Linked DNA regions of Homo sapiens: all the other regions are linked to region 1. Evidence: promoter capture Hi-C in human tissues and cell types (Jung and others, 2019). All regions are on one chromosome and are shown on one strand. The core of a region is centred on a gene start or on the middle of the fragment in contact, and the rest is flanking DNA. Distances in the headings are between cores, read along the strand shown.

The links. The method cuts DNA at HindIII sites, captures the fragments that hold promoters and counts their contacts. A contact is called where the count stands out against the background at its distance.
Region 2: a contact is called between a fragment that was not itself captured here and the fragment with the promoter of ZNF708 in region 1, in 1 of the 25 tissues and cell types used here (H1 embryonic stem cells).
Region 3: a fragment that was not itself captured here is called in contact with the fragment with the promoter of ZNF708 in region 1 in 1 of the 25 tissues and cell types used here (H1 embryonic stem cells).

The regions. Positions count from the first base shown.
Region 1 is chr19:21,326,844-21,331,150 of GRCh38, reverse strand. It overlaps ZNF708 (zinc finger protein 708), which reads left to right and starts at 1,741. Exons shown (of 4, transcript NM_021269.3): 1 at 1,741-1,941. The coding sequence starts at 1,939. RefSeq lists a silencer at 1,428-1,649 and enhancers at 896-1,884, 1,769-1,948, 1,989-2,188, 3,277-3,798. The HindIII fragment of the contact is 12,621 bases long and covers 1-4,307 here.
Region 2 is chr19:21,697,347-21,701,653 of GRCh38, reverse strand. No RefSeq gene overlaps it. Among named protein-coding and RNA genes, the nearest start is that of ZNF100, 68 kb to the left of the region's middle. RefSeq lists an enhancer at 2,327-2,827. The HindIII fragment of the contact is 4,382 bases long and covers 1-3,943 here.
Region 3 is chr19:20,989,327-20,993,633 of GRCh38, reverse strand. No RefSeq gene overlaps it. Among named protein-coding and RNA genes, the nearest start is that of ZNF430, 29 kb to the left of the region's middle. The HindIII fragment of the contact is 4,218 bases long and covers 116-4,307 here.

The sequences.
Region 1 (4,307 bases), core at 492-2,991:
AGACGGGGTTTCACCGTTTTAGCCGGGATGGTCTCGATCTCCTGACCTCGTGATCCGCCCGCCTCGGCCTCCCAAAGTGCTGGGATTACAGGCGTGAGCCACTCCGCCCGGCCTGCCCTCTGCTCTGTCTATGACCACTGTCTGTTCTACCCTCAGAACCGAAGAGAGATGTTGGTAGGGAGAGGCTCTCTCCTCACCTCCGGCAGAAAAGGGATGTTCAGGTCGTTCACCCTCCTGATGTCAGAGCTGCACTTCAATGTAGCAGCTATTGGCCCTGTGTTGCTACTGGCTGCCTGGAATGCGCCTGGTCTGAACTGCGATGTGCTAGAAAGGTAAAATACGAGTTAGTTTCAAAGGTTTAGTTCCATATATATAGACACACTTCATTAATAATTACATATTTCTCACATATTAAAATGACAATATTTTCGATATATTGGGTTAAATTGTTACAATCAATTTCACCTGTTCTTTGTTTCTTTTTAAAAATAGAGCTAAACTCTTTTTAAAGTTTGGCTACAAATTAGCCGGGCATGGTGGCCAGCGCCTTTTATCTCAGCTACTTGGGAGGCTGAGGCAGGAGAATCGCTTGAACCCGGGAGGCAGAGGTTGCAGTGAGCAGAAATCGCGCCATTGCACTCCAGCCCAGGCAACAATGTGAGACTCCGTCTAAAAAAATAAAAATATAAAATAAAGTTTGGCTACTAGAAAATTTAAAATTTACATGTGGCTCACATTTTATGATTTTATTTTATTTATTTATTTTTTTTGAGACAGAGTTTCACTCTTGTTGTCCATACTGGAGTGCAGTGGCGTGATCTCGTCTCACTGCAACCTCCACCGCCCAGGATCAAGCGATTCTCCTGCCCCAGCCTCCCAAGTAGCTGGGATTACAGGCGCCTGCCACCATGCCCAGCTAATTTTTTTGTATTGTTTTAGAGACGGGGTTTCACCATGTTGGCCAGACTGATCTCGAACTCTGAACCTCAGATGATCCACCCTCTTCGGCCTCCCGAAGTACTGGGATTACAGGCGTGAGGTACAGCGCCCAACTTGTGGCTCACATTTTATTTCAGAGAATTGCCTCCTTTTTAAAATCTCAGGCTGCCTGCTCAAAGGACCAGAAGTCAGGAAGGTCACAAAATATAAAATTTTAGAACAGTTGGGCCGGGCGCAGTGGCTCATGCCTGTAATCCCAGCATTTTGGGAGGCCGAGGCGGGAGGATCACCTGAGGTCTGGAGTTTGAGACCAGCCTGACCAACATGGAGAAACCCCGTCTCTACTAAAAATACAAAAAAATTAGCCGGGCATGGTGGCGCATGCCTGTAATCTCAGCTACGCGGGAGGCTGAGGCAGGAGAATCGCTTGAACCCGCGAGGTGGAGGTTGCGATGAGCCAAGATCGCGCCATTGCACTCCAGCCTGGGCAACAAGAGTGAAACTCAATCTCAAAAAAAAAATTTTTTTTAGAACAATTGGGTTATTATATTCTTTTCATTTGTGAATAGCCATATAGCATATTATTTATAAGGGCATATGACCTTATACACAAGATTAAAGGCAAACACCCTCTCGGGTGGGCCTGGCTCAGCTCAGGGAGGAAGCCTTGCCTGAAAAGGCTGCAGCATAGGCTGTCACACTTCATTCAGCCCAGCATCTGATCACATCTTCCGTCCCTCAGGGCCTGAAGGGGCGGGTTTTAACATTATCCAATCAGGGACTCTGAGCTGGGGACAGTTCACTCAGACACGCAGCTGGACCGGACAGGGCGGCTTCCGGGTTTGGCGCGGCCTTTGTCTCTTGCTGCAGCCGGAGCTCCGGTCTCGTCTTCACTGCTGTTTGTCCTCTGCTCCTAGAGGCCCAGACTCTGTGGCTCTGTGACCTGCAGGTATTGGGAGATCCACAGCTAAGACTCCAGGACCCTCTGGAAGCCTAGAAATGGTGAGAGTGCCGTCCGACATCCCGAGAGAGGGGAAGGGCTGGTTGAAACCTGTGGGAAGTGGCTGTGGCGGGACTCAGGACTCCCCGCAGTCATCTCCACAATCTGCGCTCCGAGTTCTCCTTGCCTAGCTCGGCCTCAGTCCCCTTCAGCCATAAGATGGCGGCTGCGCCGACAGCCGGGCCCCCGGGCGTCCTGTCTCTTCCCTGCGCAGTGACTGTGCCCTGGCCTGCAGCCCTCTCTGGGCGGCTCTGCACCGGCAGCGCCGCGCCTCTCCCAGATTGTGCAGGGACCATGGGAGGGTGGTCAGGGGAGAATCCTGACTTGGGGTCGGGTTCATGAATGGGAAGAGCTTTGGTCTGTGGGGTTCCCGGTTCCTATTTTCTCCTATTAAAAATCTGTGGCAGTCATCGCAAAAAATATTAAAGAATTTAATCAAAGAGTGATTCAATAATTGTAGAGCACAAAAGTATGTTTTGTAGTTTGTGGTTCATGGGAGGAGCTTGAAGGAAAGACTTTTTATAAGGTGCATGATGAAGAAAACTATATTTAATAATCGGTTAGGTACATTTACGTAGCTGTTGCTGTTAAGTAGAAAGCCGGGGACTAGAGCCTCCTCAGTGTAATTGCCTGCCACTTAATTATTCTCACACTCCACAGGGGACTGATTTTCCCCTGCATTTTTCACATGCGTTCCAAGCGGGGTCTCAAGTGTACCTCCCAGCCCCATTCCTCCAGCCTAACTCTGGCCTGCAGTTAGATTTAAACTGCAAATAAACTAAAATACTAAATTTCTAGTTCCTTCTGACATTTCCAAATGCCAGCTTGCCTTTCCTAATTCACATTCTCAACTGTTTTTCCTTTAGTGTACATTTTTGATACTGTATTTTAGTTAATCATTTTTTGACAAAGCATTGGATGGCACTTAAAATTGTTTTCTGGTTGAAAATATTTCTCATGAGAAGAAAGCAAAAAATAATTCCCTGACACTGTATTTTATGAAATTTCTATGGCTTTTTTTTTTTTATCTTCCTCAGGCACAGAAATCTTATCAGAATGTTTGTTTTCAGGTGAAGGTTTTTCTTTGGAAACTTTACGGAGTGATGTGTCTTCAGCCACCCTTCAGTTTTTTCCTGGTCCTGGGTTTCAGTACTGTCTGGAGTAAACCAAGATACACATCATGACTTTTTCTGCTAGAGTGTCTAGTGAATATCAGCTCCTGGGTCATTTTTCTCCCTGAGGACAACCTGAGGTATGGAGTGTAGCTTCTCAAGGGAGCAGGTGGATGCCCTGGGGCTGAGAGGCATCTCCTGGCATACTCTTCCTTTGAAAAGCTAACCCCTTGAGACATTAAGATTGTCTTCACCCAACCCAGCTTCCATTTCTTGGAGACACAGTGCTGGTCAGCCAATCAGATGCTGGTATTGAGGGGAAAACACAGAAATAATTTCTGCCCCCTGAATTCTCTAAATTTTGTGGAAAAAAAAAAGTATCCCAAAAGACAAAGAAAAACCTGACCCAAGTGAGATGGTGCAAGAACTTACAAAGTAAAATGCACCTGGGGCATAGTGTAATGTCTCCTGAGAGGGTGGTTATTGAGCACTTAAGGTGAGCAGAATGGGGTGGGTGAATATCAGTCAGACACATCTGTTTTCTTTCTTTTCTTTTTTTTTTTTTTTGAGGTGGAGTTTCACTCTTGTTGCCCAGGCTGGAGTGCAATGGCACGATCTCGGGTCACCGCAACCTCCGCCTCCCAGGTTCAAGCGATTCTCCTGCCTCAGCCACCCGAGTAGCTGGGATTACAGGCATGTGCCACCACACCCAGCTAATGTTTTTGTATTTTTAGTAGAGATGGGGTTTCTCCATGTTGGTCAGGCTGGTCTCAAACTCCAGACCTCAGGTGATCCGCCCGCCTCGGCCTCCCAAAGTGCTGGGAATACAGGCGTGAGCCACCGCGCCCGGTCTAGACACATCTGTTTTCTAATTAGCACTACCACTCCCTGGGTTTGTCACCTTGAAAAGATTTGTTCACTTATGTTGACTTCCATTATTTAACTGTAAATTGCATTTTATTAATAGGACTTGGAAGGTAAGAAAATATTAACAGAGGGCATAAAAGAGGTGGATTTCAGAAAAAATTAATATTAATCATGTATTTTATTTGTGAGAAATTCTCATTTAAGTTTTCCTTTCTTAGAGTAAGTTTAGGAATTTTCTCAGATGTATTTTTTGTGAATATATATATAATCAAATATATATGTATTTATATTTATATTTAATATGGACTCTTGCTCTTGTTGCCCAGGCTGGAGTGCAATGGCACAATCTTGGCTCACTGCAACCTCTGCCTCCCGGGTTCAAGCAATTC
Region 2 (4,307 bases), core at 503-3,002, 370 kb before region 1:
TGAGCCACATCCATCTATGTATGTAACACTAACTTGGTGACAGCTTCTTTATACTAAACCAGAACTCATTTTACCTGGTGGTTTTGTTTTAAATGTATGAGCTGTGCTATATGATATTCCAATAACTAATCAAAATGTAATTCAGAGACTATGGAGAAAAAGTCACATAGGCACACTAAAAATGAGTTGGAATCTGGCAGCTGACACTGATTAACAGGTTGAGCAGATTAGACTAGACCTAAATCCCTGTAAACAATATTAAAAGAAAGAATTTTTATTAATAACATCCTTGACAATGTAATAGGCCTATGAGATTTGAAAAGAAATTGATTAGTTTACCCATCATCAATCCATATTAAACTATCAAATTTTGAACACACCATAAAAAATAAAATTAGTAAACTATTCTTAGAGTTAATCTGATTAAAACAAGACTTCTGGGTATTTGAAAACACCAAATTATTGATGAAAAATACCCATTTTGAACAAATTCTTGATCATATATTATACATCATACATATATGATAATGTATGATTGCATATATGATATGTATGTATGATGTATGATATATATGATCAATAATTTGTTCAAAATGGACATTTTCATCAATAATTTGGTGTTTTCAAATACCCAGAATATATATATATTTTTTAAATACCCAGAATATATATATATATTACTACTAAGTAAAACCTAATACTAATAGCTTTGATTTATAAAATATTTGTGAATTTCTATCCTGTAGTGAAAAATCAAGAAATTATTTAAATCTGCTATCTAAATTTTGATTATAATATTTGGTATTTTAATTAAGTGCATGTATTCATATACTATGGCAAACCACCTATTTCTTTACTATCCTGCCATTTTATAAAATAAACCTGAATTTGTGGAGATATTTGTAAAAAAAAAATTATTTCTAAAAAAAGTTTTGATTTAGACATCAAAATAGATATTAATGTCACATTATAAACATAGTTTGCTGAACCCTACAGTAATCTGTAGTTTGTGTACAACAGTCTTAGATTACCTAAAACAAAAAGTCTCTTTCTTATGTTTAACATGCAAAAGTCCAAAATATATCCAGACAGATGGAAACTGTGACTGCCATCTTAAGATACAAATGTTTCAGCACGATAACACTGTTCTGTGTATGTACAGATGGAAAAACCAAACTTTGAAGTTTTCAAATCATAAACAGGAGTGTAATTTGTGATTCTAAACCTTAAATATAGGAAACAAACACATACAGTTTACTCTTCTTAATTTAAAATATACTGTTCTTTGAACAATTCAAGTAATGTTAGACTATCAAAAATTTCATAAGCCATACAAGTGTCAACTGCATTTTCAAAATTATAAGAACTTAAGAGTAAACTAAACTGATACAGTTCAGTTTAAAAAGTAAACTACTTTTTATTTGCCTTTGTGATAAGAATCACCTGTATTTATTTTGGAACAAACAAGAAATTATATGGTGGTAACTTGCTGGGTGCTGACTGTGATGGTATTTACTTTCCTAGGGATAGGAAGATCCAGTGGACCAGAATCATAAGCACCTTGCCATGTTCATTGCTGTTCTTTTTTTCTGTGACTAAGATTCATTTCCCAGACTCTGAAATGGCTGCATTGTCTGGGGTAAATACCTGGGGTTTGTTGTCTCACACGAGGAAAATTTAGAACACGAACACACACGAGGATTGATTTTGGGGTGGAAAGTTTAATAGACAACACGCCTGTAATCCCAGCACTTTGGGAGGCCGAGGCAGGTGGATCACGAGGTCAGGAGATCGAGACTATCCTGGCTAACACGGTGAAACCCCGTCTCTACTAAAAATACAAAAAATTAGCCGGGCGTGGTGACGGGCGTCTGTAGTCCCAGCTACTCGGGAGGCTGAGGCAGGAGAATGGCGTGAACCCGGGAGGCAGAGCTGGCAGTGGGCCGAGATGGCGCCACTGCACTCCAGCCTGGGCGACAGAGTGAGACTCCGTCTCAAAAAAAAAAAAAAAAAAAAAAAAAGAAAGTTTAATAGGCAAAAATAACAGAGAGAGAGAAAGCTCCTCATGCTGAGAAACAGGGTCACCTAAAAAATTTCCTGGTTGCGGGTAGAACACAATTGATTTTGTAGAGAAGCTTGAGGAGTCAGTGATTGATTTACATAGGGCACAGGAGATTGGTTGACCAGGTGTGCCATTTACATAACCCATGCAAAGGCTGGCCCTCCCACCCTAGTCTTTTATTATGCAAATGTAGCTTCTACCTGTCACCATGATACCTGCTCACGTGGCTTTACCTGGCTGGTGCCATGACACCCACACAAGTGGTGTCAAAGAAAAAAGAGGAGGAATTCACCTCTGTTGAAATGTACTTGCCTTTTAATACAGCCGCCTGCATTTACAAATGAAAGTCTCCAGCCTGCTTATCAGCTTGCAGCTTGACTTTTCAGGCTGTTTTCTGTTAGAAAAGAATTGGCTTTGGGGCTGCTTTTTATTAAAGAAAAATTCTAGTGAGAGAACTCTTTTACCCTCTCTAAATGCCTAAAATAATTTCTTAATAACTCCTATATTATTCTCCCCTCAGGAGACGTATTCCTAACTGCTGTTAGGGGGTGTCAGATGACGAATCTTTCAAGATACTTCCTGCTGAAAAGGGCCATCATGTTGGGGAACAGCAGTTAGGGCTCCTCCTGAGGTTGATCTAAGAGTTCTTGAAAAAAAATGGTGTGTCCAGGCCAGGTGCAGTGGCTTATGCCTGTAATCCCAGCACTTTGGGAGGCCGAGGCAGGTGAATCACCTGAGGTCAGGAATTCAAGACCAGCCTGGCCAACATGGTGAAACCGCATCTCTAATAAAAACACAAAAATTATCCAGACTTGGTGTTGCGTGCCTGTAATCCCATCTACTAGGGAGGCTGAGGCAGGAGAATTGCTTCAACCTGGGAGGCGGAGGTTGCAGTGAGCCGATATCTCACCACTGCACTCCAGCTTGGGTGACAGAGCGAGACTTCGTCTTAAATCAAACAAACAAACAATAAAAAAAAAGAATGGTGTGTCCTCGTGTGGCTCTGTTTGCAGCACCTAGGCAAAAAAGAGATAATTTTTACCAGAAGGTTTTGAAGACAGGATTAGAATATTCATATTAAGATGACCGCTGCTAGTGGGGTAATACAACCTTATGGTATAATAGCAGAGTTCTACACCTGTTAGTTGTCCCAATGGATTGTAATACTGGTTTGCCTCCACTAGATGTTGCTGTACATTACCAGAAACGTTAATATAAAAGTAACATTTTCTTTGAGAAAAACATACATTTTCCCCTTGACTTGCCATTAGGGAATACTTTTAGGTTTAGGCCATTTTTATAACTTTCAATATGATTGGGAGAAATACATCATCCGGTGGCTAAAGTAACTTTAGTGTTAATCTTGGCAATGCCTTTCCTTTAATTATTCAACTCTTTATTTCCACAGACCATCTTATAACAAACTTTCTGACTTGTCCTAAACATCCATTCTTTAAACAACCAGTCATCTCCTTTTAGAACAAGAATTTAACATACAAGATTCTTCCTTATATAAAATCTTTCTTTATAACTGTCTTTCTGTAGCTTACAGTGCACCATATTACCAATTTTTTTTTTTTTTGAGACAAAGTCTTGCTCTTGTCCCCCAGGCTGAAGTACAATGGCATGATCTCTTGATACCCTACCTTGTTTTAACCTGATTATCTCTCTTAGCTGAGAGAGCCGGACAGACTCCATTTTATTTCCTTCACTTACAGCCCCTTTACCTCCCTCCCTTAAGGGCATAACTAGTGCAAGCTGACTCCAAGCACGTCCAGGAATGCACTTACTGATAAGATATTGAGGCAAGCTGAACCAGCAGCTCCTGGGGACGCACCTAAAACCCCTGCATTTACCTCTTTGTGATAGTTTAAACCCCTGCACCTGGAACTGTTTATTTTTCTGTAACTGCTTCTGTAACCAATTAATTTTTTTAACTTTCTGCCTGTTCTACTTCTGTAAAAATTGCTTTAGCTAAACTCCGCCTCCCCTATTTAGACCACGATATAAAAAAAATCTAGCCCCTTCTTCGGGGCCGAGAGAATTTTGAGCACTAGCTGTCTCTCGGTCACCGGCAATAAAAGGACTCCTGAAATTAGTCTCAGAGTGTGGCGTTTCTCTACAACTCGCTCGGTTACAACATTTGGAAGCCCCAGCAAGATAATTGCCACCTGGTGAGTGCCGGACTCGCTCCAGGCTCTCCTGGCTGGACAGCGGGCTTATAGGGGAGGCACCTCCTGAAGCT
Region 3 (4,307 bases), core at 975-3,474, 340 kb after region 1:
TATTGAACTCCTGACCTCGTGATCTACCCACCTTGGTCTCCCAAAGTGCTGGGATTACGGGCGTGAGCCACTGCTCTGGGCCTGATGAGCTTTTTTTCATATGTTTGTTGGCCACATAAATGATTTGTTTAAGTTCCTTGTAGATTTTGGATATTAGACCTCTGTCAGATGGGTAGCTTGCAAAACTTTTCTCCCATTCTATAGGTTGCCTTTTCACTCCGATGGTAATTTCTTTTGCTATGCAGAAGCTCTTTAGTTTAATTAGATCCCATTTGTCAATTTTAGCTTTTGTTGCAATCGCTTTCAGTGTTTTAGTCATGAAGTCTTTACCCATGCCTATGTCCTGAATGGTATTGCCTAGGTTTTCTTTTAGGATTTTTATGATTTGGGGTTTTACATTTAAGTCTTCAATTCATCTTGAGGATTGTCTTGGCTATACGGGCTCTTTTTTGGTTCTATACAAAATTTAAAGTAGTTTTTTCTAACTCTGCAAAGAAAGTCACTGGTAGCTTGATGGGAATAGCATTGAATCTGTAAATTACTTTGGTCAATATGGCCATTTTCATGATATTGATTCTTCCTATCCATGAGTATGTAATGTTTTTCCATTTGTTTGTGTCCTCTCATTTCCTTGAGCAGTGGTCTGTAGTTCTCCTTGAAGAGGTCCTTCAAATGCCTTGTAAGTTGTTTTCCTAGATATTTTATTCTCTTTGTAGCAATTGTGAATGAGATTTCAGTCATGATTTGGCTCTCCGCTTGTCTATTGTTGTTGTTTAGGAATGCTTGTGTGTTTTTTTTGTTTCTTTTTGTTTTTGAGACGGAGTCTTGCTCTGTCACCCAGGCTGGAGTCCAGCGGTGCAACCTTGGCTCACTGCAACCTCCGCCTCCTGGGTTCAAGCGATTCTCCTGCCTCAGCCTCATGAGTAGCTGGGATTACAGGCACACACCATCATGCCTGGCTAATTTTTGTATTTTTAGTAGAGACGGCATTTCACCATGTTGGCCAGGATGGTCTCGATCTCTTGACCCCATGATCTGCCCACCTCAGCCTCCCAAAGTGCTGGGATTACAGGCACGAGCCACCATGCCAGGCCTATGCTTGTGATTTTTGCACATTGATTTTGTATCCTGAGACTTTACTAAAGTTGCTTATCAGCTTAAGGAGTTTTTGGGCTGAGATGATGGGGTTTTCTAAATATACAATCATGTCATTTGCAAACAGAGACAATTTGACTTCCTGTCTTCCTATTTGAATACACATTATTCCTTTCTCTTGCCTGATTGCCCTGGCCAGAACTTACAATATGATGTTGAGTAGGAGTGGTGAGAGAGGGCATCCTTGTCTTGTGCCGGTTTTCAAAGGGAAAGCTTCCAGCTATTGTTCATTCAGTATGATATTGGCTATGGGTTTGTCATCAATAGCTCTTATTATTTTGAGGTGTGTTCCATCCATACCTAGTTTTTTAAGAGTTTTTAGCATGAAGGGATGTTGAAGTTTATCAAAGGCCCTTTCTCCATCTATTGAGATAATCATGTGGTTTTTGTCATTGGTTCTGTTTATGTGATGGATTATGTTGGTTGATTTGTGTATGTTGAACCAGCCTTGCATCTCAGGGATGAAGCCCACCTGATCATGGTGGATAAGCTTTTTGATGTGCTGCTGGATTTGGTTTGCCAGTATTTTATTGAGGATTTTCGCATTGATGTTCATCAGGGATATTGGCCTGAAATTTTTTTTTTTATTGTGTCTCTGCCAGGTTTTGGTATCAGGATGATGCTAGCCTCATAAAATGAGTTAGGGAGGAGTCCCTCTTTTGCTATTGTTTGAAATCATTTCAGAAGGAATGGTACTAGCTCCTCTTTGTACCTCTGGTAGAATTCAGCTGTGAATCCATCTGGGCCTGGGCATTTTTTGGTTGGTAGCCTGTTAATTACTGCCTCAGTTTCAGAACTTGCTATTGGTTTATTCAGGGATTCATCTTCTTCCTGGTTTAGTCTTGGGAGGGTGTATGTGTCCAGGAATTTATTCATTTCTTCTAAATTTTCAAGTTTATTTGCATAGAGATGTTTATAGTATTCTCTTATAGTAGTTTGTATTTCTGTGGGATCAGTGGTAATAGCCCCTTTATCATTTTTTATTGTGCCTATTTGATTCTTGTCTCTTTTCTTCTATACTAGTCTAGCTAGTAGTCTATCTATTTTGTTAATCTTTTCAAAAAACCAGTTCCTAGATTAATTGATTATTTGAAGGTTTTTTGTGTCTCTATCTCCTTCAGTTCTGCTCTGGTATTAGTTATTTCTTGTATTCTGTTCGCTTTTGAATTTGTTTGCTCTTGCTTCTCTAGTTCTTTTAATTGTGATTTTAGGGTGTTGATTTTAGATCTTTCCAGCTTTCTGTTGTGGGTATTTAGTGCTATAAATTTACCTCTTAACACTGCTTTAGCTGTGTTAGATTCTGGTCCCAGAGATTCTGATACACTGTGTCTTTGTTCTCATTGGTTTCAAAGAACTTATTTACTTCTGCCTTCATTTCGTTATTTACCCAGTAGTCATTCAGGAGCAGGTTGTTCAATTTCCATGTAGTTGTGAGGTTTTGAATGCGTTTCTTAATCCTGAGTTCTAATTTGATTGTCCTGTGGTCTGAGAGACTGTTTGGTATGATTTTCATTCTTTTGCATTTGCTGAGGAACGTTTTACTTCCAATTATGTGGTCAATTTTAGAATACGTGCTGTGTGGCACTGAGAAGAATTTATATTCTGTTGATTTGGTGTGGAGAGTACTGTAGATGTCCATTAGGTCTGCTTGGTCCAGAGCTGAGTTCAAGTCCTGAATATCCTTATTAATTTTCTGTCTCCTTGATCTGTCTAATATTAACAGAGGGGTGTTAAAGTCTCCCACTATTATTGTGTGGGAGTCTAAGTCTCTTTGTAGATCTCTAAGAACTTGTTTTATGAATCTGGGCACTCGTGTATTGGGTGCTTATATGTTTAGGATAGTTAATTCTTCTTGTTGCATTGATCCCTTTACCATTATGTAATGCCCTTCTTTTTATTTTTTGATCTTTTTTGGTTTAAAGTCTATTTTATCAGAGACTAGGATTGCAACCCCAGCTTTTTTTTTTCTTTTCATTTGTTTGGTAAATATTCCTGCATACCTTTATTTTGAGCCTATATGTGTCTTTGCATGTGAGATAGGTCTCCTGAATACAGCACACTGATAGGTCTTGACTCTTTATCCAGTTAGCCAGTCTATGTCTTTAAATTGGGGCATTTAGCCCATTTAAATTTAAGGTTAATATTGTTATGTGTGAATTTGATCCTGTCATCATGATGCTAGCTGGTTATTTTTCATGTTAGTTGATGCAGTTTCTTCATAGTGTCATTGGTCTTTATATTTTGGTGTGTTTTTACAGTGGCTGGTACCAGTTTTTCCTTTCCATATTTAGTGCTTCCTTCAGGAGCTCTTGTAAGGCAGGCATGGTGGTGATGAAATCCCTCAGCATTTGCTTGTCTGTAAAGGATTTTCTTTCTCATTCGCTTATGAAGCTTACTTTGGCTGGATATGAAATTCTGGGTTGAAAATTCTTTTCTTCAAGAATGTTGAATATTGGCCCGTACTCTCTTCTGGCTTGTAGGATTTTCACAGAGAAATCTGCTGTTAGTCTGATGGGCTTACCTTTGTATTTAACCTGACCTTTCTGTCTGGCTGCCCTTAACATTTTGTCCTTCATTTCAACCTTGGAGAATCTGACGATTATGTGTCTTGGGGTTGCTCTTCTTGAGGAGTATCTTAGCAATGTTCTCTGTATTTCCTCAATTTGAATGTTGGTCTGTCTTGCTAGGTTGGGGAAGTTCTCCTGGGTAATATCCTGAAATGTGTTTTCCAACTTGGTTCCATTCTCCCTGCCACTTTCAGATACACCAACCAATCACAGGTTTGGTCTTTTCATGTAGTGCTATATTTCCTGGAGGGTTTGTTCATTCCTTTTCATTCTTTTTTCTCTAAGCTTGTCTTCATGCCTTAGTTCAGTAAGTTGATCTTCAATCTTTGATATCCTTTCTTCTGTTTGATTGATTCAGCTATTGACACTTGTGTATGCTTCATGAAGTTCTTGTGTTTGTGCTGTGTTTTTCAGCCCCATCTGGCCATTTAAGTTCCTCTCTAAACTGTTTATTCTAGTTAGCAGTTCCTGTAACCTTTTATCAAGGTTCTTAACTTCCTTGCATTGGGTTAGAATATACTCTGTTAGCTCAGAGGAGTTTGTTATTATCCACCTTCTGAAGCCTACTTCTGTCAATTCATCAGT